4 separate regions of the Homo sapiens genome follow, and all the other regions are linked to region 2. Evidence: promoter capture Hi-C in 16 types of primary human blood cells and fetal thymus (Javierre and others, 2016). All regions are on one chromosome and are shown on one strand. Each heading gives the region's core, a stretch centred on a gene start or on the middle of the fragment in contact. The rest is flanking DNA. Distances are from core to core; before and after follow the strand shown. Region 1 has its middle 3.0 kb from the start of KRTAP3-1. Region 2 holds the start of KRT15 (keratin 15). Region 3 overlaps KRT39 (keratin 39). Region 4 holds the start of KRT40 (keratin 40).

What was found. The method cuts DNA at HindIII sites, captures the fragments that hold promoters and counts their contacts. A CHiCAGO score of 5 or more calls a contact.
Region 1: a fragment that was not itself captured here is called in contact with the fragment with the promoter of KRT15 in region 2 in 2 of 17 cell types (naive CD4 T cells and total CD4 T cells); the score reaches 5.4 in naive CD4 T cells.
Region 3: a contact is called between a fragment that was not itself captured here and the fragment with the promoter of KRT15 in region 2, in 3 of 17 cell types (naive CD4 T cells, total CD8 T cells and naive CD8 T cells). The highest score is 7.3, in naive CD4 T cells.
Region 4: a contact is called between a fragment that was not itself captured here and the fragment with the promoter of KRT15 in region 2, in 2 of 17 cell types (naive CD4 T cells and non-activated CD4 T cells). The highest score is 5.1, in naive CD4 T cells.

The regions. Positions count from the first base shown.
Region 1 is chr17:41,004,782-41,007,481 of GRCh38, forward strand. No RefSeq gene overlaps it. Among named protein-coding and RNA genes, the nearest start is that of KRTAP3-1, 3.0 kb to the right of the region's middle. The HindIII fragment of the contact is 4,275 bases long and covers 1-2,700 here.
Region 2 is chr17:41,517,621-41,520,320 of GRCh38, forward strand. KRT15 (keratin 15) reads right to left here and starts at 1,270. Exons shown (of 8, transcript NM_002275.4): 1 at 710-1,270. The coding sequence starts at 1,207. RefSeq lists an enhancer at 1,610-2,609. The HindIII fragment of the contact is 23,808 bases long and covers 1-2,700 here.
Region 3 is chr17:40,960,612-40,963,311 of GRCh38, forward strand. KRT39 (keratin 39) reads right to left here. Exons shown (of 7, transcript NM_213656.4): 4 at 1,791-1,952; 5 at 1,551-1,676. The region is part of intron 1 of LOC107985072 (a long non-coding RNA gene); the gene reads left to right. Among named protein-coding and RNA genes, the nearest start is that of KRT39, 5.0 kb to the right of the region's middle. The HindIII fragment of the contact is 5,264 bases long and covers 1-2,700 here.
Region 4 is chr17:40,981,961-40,984,660 of GRCh38, forward strand. It overlaps KRT40 (keratin 40), which reads right to left and starts at 2,366. Exons shown (of 7, transcript NM_001389244.1): 1 at 1,867-2,366; 2 at 1,086-1,168; 3 at 347-503. The coding sequence starts at 2,313. LOC107985072 (a long non-coding RNA gene) reads left to right here. Exons shown (of 4, transcript XR_001752886.2): 4 at 368-1,897. The HindIII fragment of the contact is 1,530 bases long and covers 642-2,171 here.

The DNA.
Region 1 (2,700 bases), core at 147-2,646, 510 kb before region 2:
TGTTTTGTGGCAAAGGAAGGCTTTCTTCTACAAGGTTGTCCTCTATGGGTCTTTTATATCCACCTATCTCAGGGAACACGGCTTCTGTCCATCAGAATGTTGGACGGAACATCCTTGTTGCTGTTTACCTAATTCTGTAAAAATAACTCACTAACTTCTTATGTATCAGACAGGGGATGAGCTCTCCTTCAGTTTTATTTAGTTGTGTTGCTGCATTCAAACTTGCTTTCTGTTGTAGTTTCAAAATGGTGTCAGTGTAGTTTTCCACTTACTCACATGTAGACACATCCATACTGTATTAGTCTGTTCTCATGCTGCTATAGGGACATACCCGAGATTGGGTAATTTATAAAGGAAAGAAGTTTAATGGACTCACAGTAGACCCACCTCAGCCTCCCAAAGTGCTGGGATTACAGGCACGAGTCGCTGTGCCTGGCCTCAATAACAATTTGAAGGAAAAATGAAATATCTTGTTTTTTATTATATTATCAAGGATAAACAATTATTAATGTTAAGGGCAGTTGTTTTACCTTGATTATTGATGCTGAAGTTGAACTGAAAATGTGTTTGAGTTGCCAAACATTCTGCATTTCAATTCAAAGTTAATGATGCAGCCAATATTTCTTCTCTGCTGACACTGCTAATCAGTAAAGTCTGACTTTTTAAAAAAGGTTTGTTCTTAACTTAGAAACACGGATACCTTTTTTAATACTCATTGTATACACTCATTTTATTTTAGACTATAATCACCACAGAGAAAACAGAGAAAACAACAAAAGATACAATTGACAGGGATAGTAGAGAATATATTGTCAAGTGTCATATACTTTCTCCTGAATAAAGAGAGCCACCTATAGTCACATTTCTCTTTGACATATTGCTGTCTGTGGGGAAGGTGAGTGCTTTGGTGTAGTGGAAAGAGAAGGGACTTCGGACTTAGTTTGGGGTTTAAGTCCTTCTCTCTCACTTATGATTTATGTAACTTTTGCAAGTAATTTAGTCTTTCTCAGCCTGAGTTTCTGCACCTGTTAGTGGCCTTTCTTCACCTGTTAGTGATGCAGGGCAGGGGAGCCCCAAAGTGGGGCTTAGCCTGCAAGGGTTCTTGGCTTTGCCTAGGGAAGAATTCAAGGGCAAGCCAGAGGTAGAAAACAGCTTTATTGAAGCAGCAGTGTTACAGCTCTGTGATTGCTCCTGCAGAACAGGGCTACCTCTGTAGGCAGAGAGTAGCAGCTCAGGGCAGTTTTGCATATTTCTACCTACTTTTAATTAGATGTAGATTAAAGAGTGGTTTGTGCAGAAATTTCTAAGAAGGAGTAGTAAGTTTTAGGTCATTGGGTCATTGCCATGGAAAGGGGTGGTAACTCAGGTGTTGCCATGGCAATGGTAAATTGACACAGCATGCTGGTGGGCATGTCTGATTGGAAAGCTGTTTCTGTCCCCATCCTGTTTTAGCTAGCCCTCAATTTGGTCCAGTATCTGAGCCCCGCTTCTGGAGTAGAGTCCCACCTTCTACCTCATTAGTATGTCCAGTAGATACTCACTCAGTGTGAGCTATTCCTAATGAAAGCAGTAAAAGTAATGAGGTAGAATGGGCTTGGTTAGTTGCATGGGGTACTTGTTACTTAGAATGCTTCTGGATGATCTAGAATCATAGAATGTTAAAACGAAAAGCAACCTTAGAGATGGTGTGATCAACCAACCCATTTTACTGCTTTAACACCTGAGACCCCAAGAACTTAATTGACTTGCTTAGGGCCACAGAGGCAGCTCAAGGCAGAGCCAGGACTAAAACAACACATCTTCTGGTTTCCAGTTGGGGATTTATAACTAGGCCAGGGCCCGTGAATGCTAAAGACCATGGTAGTAGTAATAGGAACTTCGAGTTATTTTAGGTATTAAAAACAAACTCTAATTTTTATCCCTTACTAGCATGTATGAAAACATGAAAATTCTTTGTTTTTGACTAGAAAAAAGGTAACTTGGCATGGTAACAAAGGTTATTCTATAGTAATCCTAAACATTTAATTGATATTTATAAATGTATTTATGAACACAAATGAAGGAATTAATAAACATTTTTAAGAAAGCCATTTGGGAAAAATACATATTTCAAGAAATAAAAAGATGCCCAACCTACGTATCCATCATCCAATGAGTGGATAGAGAAACTGTGGTATGTATACACCATGGAATACTACTCAGCTGTTAAAGGGAATGAAACAATGTCTTTTGTGGCAACTTGGATGGAGCTGGAGGCCATTATTCTGAGTGAAATGGAGTGGGAAATTACAGGAATGGAAAACAAAAAACCATGTTTTCACTTATAAGTGGGAGCTAAACTAAGTATGCAGATGCATATGGAGTGATATAATGGACTTTAGAGACTCAAAAAGTGGAGGGTGGGAGGGAGGCCAGGGATAAAACACTACACATTAGCTACCATGTATACTCCTTGGGTACGGGTGCACTAAAATCTCAGAATTCACCACCACTATATAATTCATCCATGTAACCAAAAACCACCTGTAACCCAAAAGCTACGGAAATAAATAAATAAATAAATAAATAAATATTTTTAAAAGATGTCTTTTGGTGAGAAAGTTGGGAACTTCCATATGGCAGTAATGGTGAGAGTCTCTCATGTGTAACAGGTTGATGCTGTGGACACGGTGGTTTCTACACTTCAGGGCATCTGGTCCT
Region 2 (2,700 bases), core at 20-2,519:
TTAAGAAGGCATTTTACGAATGAGGAACCCAGTCTTAGGGAGTAAAATGGTGAGTGAGTGGGTGGCAGAATGTGTAATGAGTTCCCAGGTCTCCTAAGACCCAACAGTACTTTTGGCACAAAAGACCTCTTTATAGGAAAAGACAAGAGGTTCTAGCATCTGGAACTCATGAGGCCACACTCCAATCCCATTCTTGCAAAAGAGGTAAAGGAATACTTTATGCAGAAGCCTGCAGGGTGCATGAGGTAGGGAGGGCGAGTTGCTCTTTTTTTTTAATTATTTTTATTTAATTAGATACAGGTTCCACTCTGTCACCTAGGCCGGAGTGCAGTGGCACAGTCATAGCTCACTGCAGCCTCTAAATCCTGGACACGAGCAATCCTATCACCTTGGCCCCCCAAAGCACTGGGATTACAGGTGTGAGCTACTGCCTCTGGCTCTTTATAATTGCCCCCACCTGTGCCCCTGTTGGTCCTAACCAGATTCCCAAGACCCCTCTCTCCCTCCCCCAGCACCACCAAGTTGAGAAGATGTGCACTGGCCTCTGCACCTGGACAGCAGGTGCATTCCAAATTTGCTGAGATTACATACCAGACAGTCATTGCCTGGGCAGGAAAGGATTTCCTTGAGTCAGCAGTAACACTGACATTAGAGCTGTGTACAGGGTACCAGCCACCTGCTCCCCTCTCTTTGACATCCGAGGACTCACCTTGTCCCGGAGCTCTTCAATGGTCTTGAAGTATTGGCTGTAGTCGCATTCTGGGCTGGTTGGGGTCTGCTTCTGGTACCAGTCATGGATCTTCACCTCCAGGTCAGCATTGGCCTCCTCCAGGGCACGTACCTTGTCCAGGTAGGAGGCCAGGCGGTCATTGAGGTTCTGCATGGTAATTTTCTCATTGCCAGAGAGGAGACCACCATCGCCACCACCAAAGCCACCACCAAAACCCCCACCAACGCCCCCTCCAAAGCCTCCACCGAAAACACTACCAGCCCCTCCACCAAAGCCACAGACCCTCATGCCACCCCCATATCCTCCTCCTGACCCTGAAGAGACAAACCTAGCAGAAGAAGCTGAGATACTTCGGCTTCCACCTCCCCCAGAGAGACTCCCCCCACCAAAGCCACCTCCCCCAGCCAGGAGGGAACCCCCTCGGGTTGAGCCACCCCCAAAGGTGGAGGAAGAAGTTTGCAGAAATGTGGTGGTCATGGCCAGGTAGCTGGAGCCCGTGAGTTCTCAGCAAACCCAAGAGATGCTGGCAGGAGGTACCAGGCCAGGCTGCACGCTGGGGCTCCTTATATACCCTTCAGAGGGTGTTGTGGGACCTCGTCTCCTCCCCTAAAGCAAAGCCAACTCCTTCTGCCTTCCTGACAAACACAGCTGCCTGCACACCTTGAGTGGGTCATGTGAAGTTTTTCTCTTCTATTTTTTTTTAATGCAACAAAAGAGATGATTCAGAATTAATAGTGTTTTTCCCCAGGGCACGGTTTTAACACTTGGATTACAGGTTCATCTCTCCATGCCAGAAGAGAGCAGCAGGGAGCGAACTCTCATCACAGCACAGCTACCAAGGCCTCTGCCTGTACTGAGAGCAGCTCAGGCCAACTGTGCCCTCAGCTGGACTTCACTTCCCCGAGCCCTGAGCCTCTCCCCAAGAGGACAGCTCCGTGTTCTTAGTTTGGGAGTCCACTGGCCGATCATTATGCTGTGTTATCCAACTCAAAACCCTGTGAGTGAGTGAGTGAGTGAATGAGTGAGTGAGTGAGTGAGTGAGAGACTGCAGGGCTCAGGGAGAGTGGAGGCCCTGGGGATGGGAATGCAGGGCCCCTGGGGGCAGGTGGAGGACAGGAGCCAGGGACCTTGAGTAGTGTTCCAGCTGAGGTGACCAGAGGAGCCAGCATCCATCCCCTTACCTGGTGCTGCAGATGGACTCCCCTCCTCCCACCTCTACTCCCCTCCTGCCATCCTCCAGCCTGTGTTCCTGGCACCCTCACAAAAGCCCAGCAGGCTTGGGACTGACAAGGGGATGACTGATGATCCCGACACCTGCCAACTGCACGGCGCTGAACCTTTGCTCGTTTCTGGGATGTGTTGGGGCAAACCTCCGCTGATAAGGCTGGGGCAAGTTCCAGGAAGCCCCTGCCTTCTCCAGGAGAGGCATGTCGCTGCTTAGCAGGGCCAGATTAGCCCCCATCTGTCCTGTCAAGTGCTGGCTGGGGACGGGCCGCTGCAGAAGGCTCTATGTGCCTGAATGCTGTGGAAGGGAAGAGAAGGGAGACTGGCAGGCAGGCTGGAAGACACCGGAGATCTTGAAGACCAAGGCATTGCTTCACACAGACGGGGAGTTGAACACTCAGGAGAGCCCTTTTCTCTGCCACCAGCTCAGGGACACCTTTCCAGGGACACCTGATACCTGTGGGCAGTGCCACTTGGAGGTGTGGCTCAGCCCTCTGGACCTGGCCCCAGGGCTTACAGAAACTCAGGAGGAGGATTCCTAGCCCAGGTTGCAGCATGGTGAAGTGGACAGGGCTCTGGAGTCCCTCAGGCCCGGGTTTGAATCCTGGCTTTATCAATTATCATGGTAAGACTGTGAGGCCTGGGTTCAAATCCTGACCCTACCAATTACCATGGTAAGACTGTGGACATTTACCTTTTTAAGTCTCTGTTTCCCTGTGGCAAGGGGCGCTCTCAACTCTCACTTC
Region 3 (2,700 bases), core at 175-2,674, 560 kb before region 2:
CCAAGCACTTTATTTATTGTTTCCTAATCAAATAAATCCAAAACCCAAATGATCAACTATGCTAAAATCTGCTTTCCTTTATCTCTTCCCTCTTTCTCTCTTTCTCTTTTTGCTTCTCTGTAAGTATTTGTTTCACTTTCTCTTTCTTGACCAACCAATAGTCTCGCACCACACTTTCCTACTTAGGAGAGAAAAAATAATAACTTAATGCACACCCAGGCATTAAAAATGCATTACTGGCTGGGCGCAGTGGCTCACGCCTATAATCCCAGCACTTTGGGAGGCCCAGGTGGGTGGATCACAAGGTCAGGAGTTCAAGACCAGCCTGGCCAAGATGGTGAAACCCCGTCTCTACTAAAAATACAAAAAATTAGCTGGGTGTTCTGGTGGGCACCTGTAATCCCAGCTACTTGGGAGGCTAAGGCAGAGAATTGCTTGAACCCGGGAGGTGGAGGTTGCAGTGACCCGAGATCGTGCCACTGCTGTCCAGTCTGGGCGACAGAGTGAGACTCCATCTCAAAAAGAAAAAAAAAAAAAAGCATTACCATGGCACTTCATTCAGTGAGTGTTCGTGTCTTAAAAAAGGAAGGAAGCAATGTTTTACCATATACAATTTATCCACCAGATCAATTCCTTTATATGTAAAATATGAAAGTTGAAACTGATGAGTAAATTTCATTCCTGCTCTATCATTCTGTAAGTCTATGGATAATGATGGGATTTTAGGTTTTAATAGCCTATTATTTGCATGATTATCCCAATTTTTATAGATGAGAAAACTGAGGTTCAAGTGGTTCAATATGTTGTCCAAGGTCACATGACTAGCTGGTGACAAAACCAGTGTGGGGCAAGGTCTTCCCAAAAGCCTTCACATCAGAGCATGTAAGCAATTCTCTACTTCAGAGAGGCATTATCATGAGACAGAATGATACTGGCTTTGGAATCTAAACTCTGGCTCAGACTCTTATTTCTTTTGTGACTTTGGATGAGTTTCTTAATGTCTCAGGATCTCAGTGTCTCTATAAAATAGGTGGGCTGAAACTTACCTTGGATTTGCTTGGGAAAATCACTTTAGCTCTTGGAGCCTCATCTGTAACATTCGTTAATAATTATGCCACCCCCCCTCTTAGGATTGCTTTATAAATCTCATGTGATAGCTTGTAAAAATGCTTTGCATATAATAAAATGCTCTCCCAGTGTTTCCCAAAGTGTACTTCATGAATCATTAATACCATGAGATGTTCTAAAAAAAGTGGGGGGATCCACAGTCAAATAAGTTTTGGAATGCTGAATACCATATACCCCCTTCCTGGAGATTCATGGTGTATATTAGCTTATTAATGGCTCACAGGAAGGCACCCTGTTTAACCTTGGTTTAGTGCAGCGTTTCGTAGACTTATTTGGCCACAAAGCTCTTTTTCAGCCATAGACGCTTTAACAAATGAGGAACTATTGTTCTGAAAGACACAGTTTGGGAAATACTGCAGCACACAGGTGTAAGGGACTGTTTCCATCTTTGCTGAGCTAGGCTTGGTCAGCTTGCTCAGTACCATTCGATGCTGGGCCTGCAGTTCAACCTCCAGAGTGTTCACACTGCGTCTCAGTTCTATGATCTCCTTTTGGCAGCATTGCTGCTGTTGAGAGCTGGTCACCACTTGTTGATTCAGCTCCTCTATCTGAAACACACAGCCAGAGACTGAGAATATTATGGGAGGAAAACATGACTTTGATTAAAGGGCCCTAGAAATGCAGCATCAGCTTATTGTTTTTGACTTTTCTATATCCCCCACCTGCGTGTTGAACCACTGTTCCACATCTTTGCGGTTTGTCTCCATGATGGGCTCATATTGACATCTCATTTCTTGTAGAACCTGGTTTAGGTCAGCAGAAGGGGCAGCAGTCACTTCAATGTCAAGTCTCTCCCCAAGCTGACACTGTAAAGAATTGATTTCCTAAGGAAAGAAAAAGACTGTGAAGTCACTTGGTGAACAGATAACCCCTTTGTGTTCTTGTTTCACTCTAACTGCTACGATTTAGCTTAATTGTGTCTAAAATATAGCCCACAACAAAGGAATACATGATTTACAGGTGTTATTGAGATGCTATAAAATGATTTAAGACTCTTTCAGGTAGGACTGTGTGTTTAAATGTGTGCAAAATTAAAAAAAAATGAGTAGCAAGACCAGAGTTCCAAAAAATTTAGATCATTTCCAGGGCTGGATAATGGGTGAAACAGGATAAAGGTGGAATTGATCATGAGAGATTATAGTCTCTATGGTGCAAATACGGGATTGTGCCAATATTGACTTGCACCAATATTGACTTGTACCAATGGGAGGTGGCAGAAGCCTGTATAGGGATGCCTACAAACATGGGAAGACTGTAAGGACAGAAAAATTGGGTTCCTTCTTGTAGAAAAGCTGGAGGGGATGTTGGAGGCCTTTCTTCCCCTTATGGCTCCAGATATTGTGTTGGAGCCAGTGGATTTGAAATACTACCTTGAACCAGTGCTAGTAGCAGTAGGTATTTTCAGGGCTAAACCAGAGTAGTACGTAGCAGTGGTTTGGCTCTGTGTCCCCACCCAAATCTCATCTCGAATTGTAATTCCCATAATTCCCATGTGTCAAGGGAGGGACCTAGTGGGAGGAGATTGGATCATGGGGGTGGTGTCCCCCATGCTGTTCTTAGGATAGTGAGTGA
Region 4 (2,700 bases), core at 157-2,656, 540 kb before region 2:
CTCCGCCTCCTGAGTTCAAGTGATTCTCCTGCCTCAGCCTCCCGAGTAGCTAGGACTACAGGCGCCTGCCACCATGCCCAGCTAATTTTTGTATTTTTAGTAGAGATGAGGTTTCATCATATTGGTCAGGCTGGTCTCGAACTCCTGACCTTGTGATCCTCCTGCCTCAGCCTCCCAAAGTGCTTGGATTACAGGTGTGAGCCACCATGCCTGGCCCTGCCTCAAGTAGTTTTATTCCAGCTTAAACAACATCTGCCCAAATTCGATTTACAAACATCAACAGATCATCTGTCAATGTAAGTACGTTACTCTCGGAGTCCTTCAGCGGAGTTGCCACTTTCCTTACCTCTTCATGGTTTTTCTTAAGGCAAAGGAGATCTTCCTTCAGAGACTCCACATGGGCCTCCAGATCAGATTTGCACAGGGTCAGTTCCTCCAGGATCCCATGCAGGCTGCTGATGTCAGCCTCTAACAGCTGGCGAAGGGACAGTTCACTCTCGTACCTTTCACAGCAAAAGAGAAATCCAACGCTTACTTTGCTGAACGCTGTGCAAAGTGTGGGGATACATGGAGGATCGACACACGGACTTCAGGAAGCCATGTGCATAATTTCTCTTAATTCCTAAGTAATGATAAATTCAAGCTTTTAAAACATTCTTAACTTTAAAATATTATATAGAGAATATTTGTGTGTGTGTGTGTGTGTGAGAGAGAGAGATTGAGAGAGAGAGAGCCATAAGTTATTTTCAAATTAAAATTAAAGCCGGGCGTGGTGGCTCATGCCTGTAATCCCAGCACTTTGGGAGGCCAAGGCGGGCAGATCACCTGAGGTCAGGAGTTCGAGACCAACCTGGCCCACATGGTGAAACCCTGTCTCTACTAAAAATACAAAAATTAGCTAGGTGTGGCGGTGCACGCCTGCCTGTAATCCCGGCTACTCAGGAGGCTGAGGCAGGAGAACCACTTGAACCCAGGAGGCAGAGGTTGCAGTGAGCTGAGATAGCACCATTGAGCTCTAGCCTGGGTGACAAGAGTGAAACTCCATCTCAAAATAAATAAATAAAATAAAATTAAATTAAACTTACTTTGACTTAAAGTCATCAGTGGCCAGTTTGCAGTTGTCAAGCTGTACAGCAAGTCTAGAATTCTCTGCTTTCGTGCATAAGATCTGGGAAGCAAGTCATTATGTGATAAATGATTCTTTGAGAGAAACCTAAGTAAACTTCTATCCAACAGCTATGCCATTAGCTATCTTTTGAAAGTCTTTATAAGAAAGTATAAAATCACCCTCAGCCTGCTTTTTTTTATTAACCTTGTCACTTCATGAAGAAAAAAAGCAGAGCCAATTTAGAAACAAAATAATGAAATAAAAAGGTTTAGTTTTTTAATAACATAAGACATTTTGCAACATTCTCAGGCAGTTGAACACCATTAATGTTTTCTCCATCAGTAGTTTGTATTATGAGTATATCCTCTCCCATAATAATAGAAATTCATGGAGAGAAGAAAATGATTACTAGGTAGTTAAAAAGATGGCATTTCATGATCTGTGTTCAGATAATGTAAATGTTCAGTGTCACGTACAAAAGCGATTTTGGATATAATACAGTTTTTCTGCATTCTATAGATGATGAAGGAAAAGTCTACAGGCAAGTTACTTTATTATAGTCACTCAGTAATCAGGGGTAGCTCTGGGGCTGATGCTGAGGTTTTCTGACTTTCAGTCCGGTGCTCTCCCCTATGTATCACTAACTCTTAGAATTTTCCTTTCCCTTGGTTTCCTTCTGTAAAACAGCCCCTTCTAGTAGAAAGATAAAGCAAACCATAGATCAGGAAGGTGGAGCACTAGGGCAACAGGACACAGACCTTTTGTTGGAGATCTTCAATGGTGTTGAAGTAACGCTGATAATCCGGGCACACCATTGGGATATCCTGTTCACATTGTTCTTGGATCCTGGATTCCAGCTCTGCGTTGGTCTCCTCCAGGCTGCGCACCTTCTCCAGATAGCTGGCGAGTCTGTCATTCAGGAACTGCATCGTCTCCTTCTCATTGCTAGTGAACACCCCATCCTCACACCAGGCACAGTTCCCCACCAAGCAGGGACTATTACAACTCCCAGTAAAGTAGCATGGCAGGAGGCAACCAGTCAGCCCGCGAGACCTGGATAGGAAGCTTGGAGTCTGACATCGGGATGTAGCACAGGTACCGGGGAGACAAGCTGTTTCCACGGAGCAGCTTGAGGCAGGTGCACAACCGGAAGCCGTGCCACAGGACTCAGGAGAGCAGTGTGTGGAGGAGCAGTCAGAAGTCATCCTTCCAGAAGCAAAGACAGAGACTGGCTGCAAAACTTCAGTTGCCTTGACTCCAAAACTCTCCTCTCCTGAGAGTTTTATAACCCCCCAAAATGGGTGTTTACAGACTGCACCGGATGTTTTCTTTATCACTGATGGTGCCAGTTTTCGTACAAACATCTCATTAGAGTTGTTTATTTACTGAGGAAGAGTTTTATGCCTCATAAAATAGGGATAACTTTAGGTTACCAAAGCAGGACCCACACCATTTCCATGTGCAAGACAAAACACTTATTTCAGAAAATCGTCATAGGAAGCATTGTGCTTTTGACAGAATAATAAAAGAAAGAGAAAATTTGGCCAATGAATAATTATAGATACAACTCATTACAAATCAGGAAAATAATA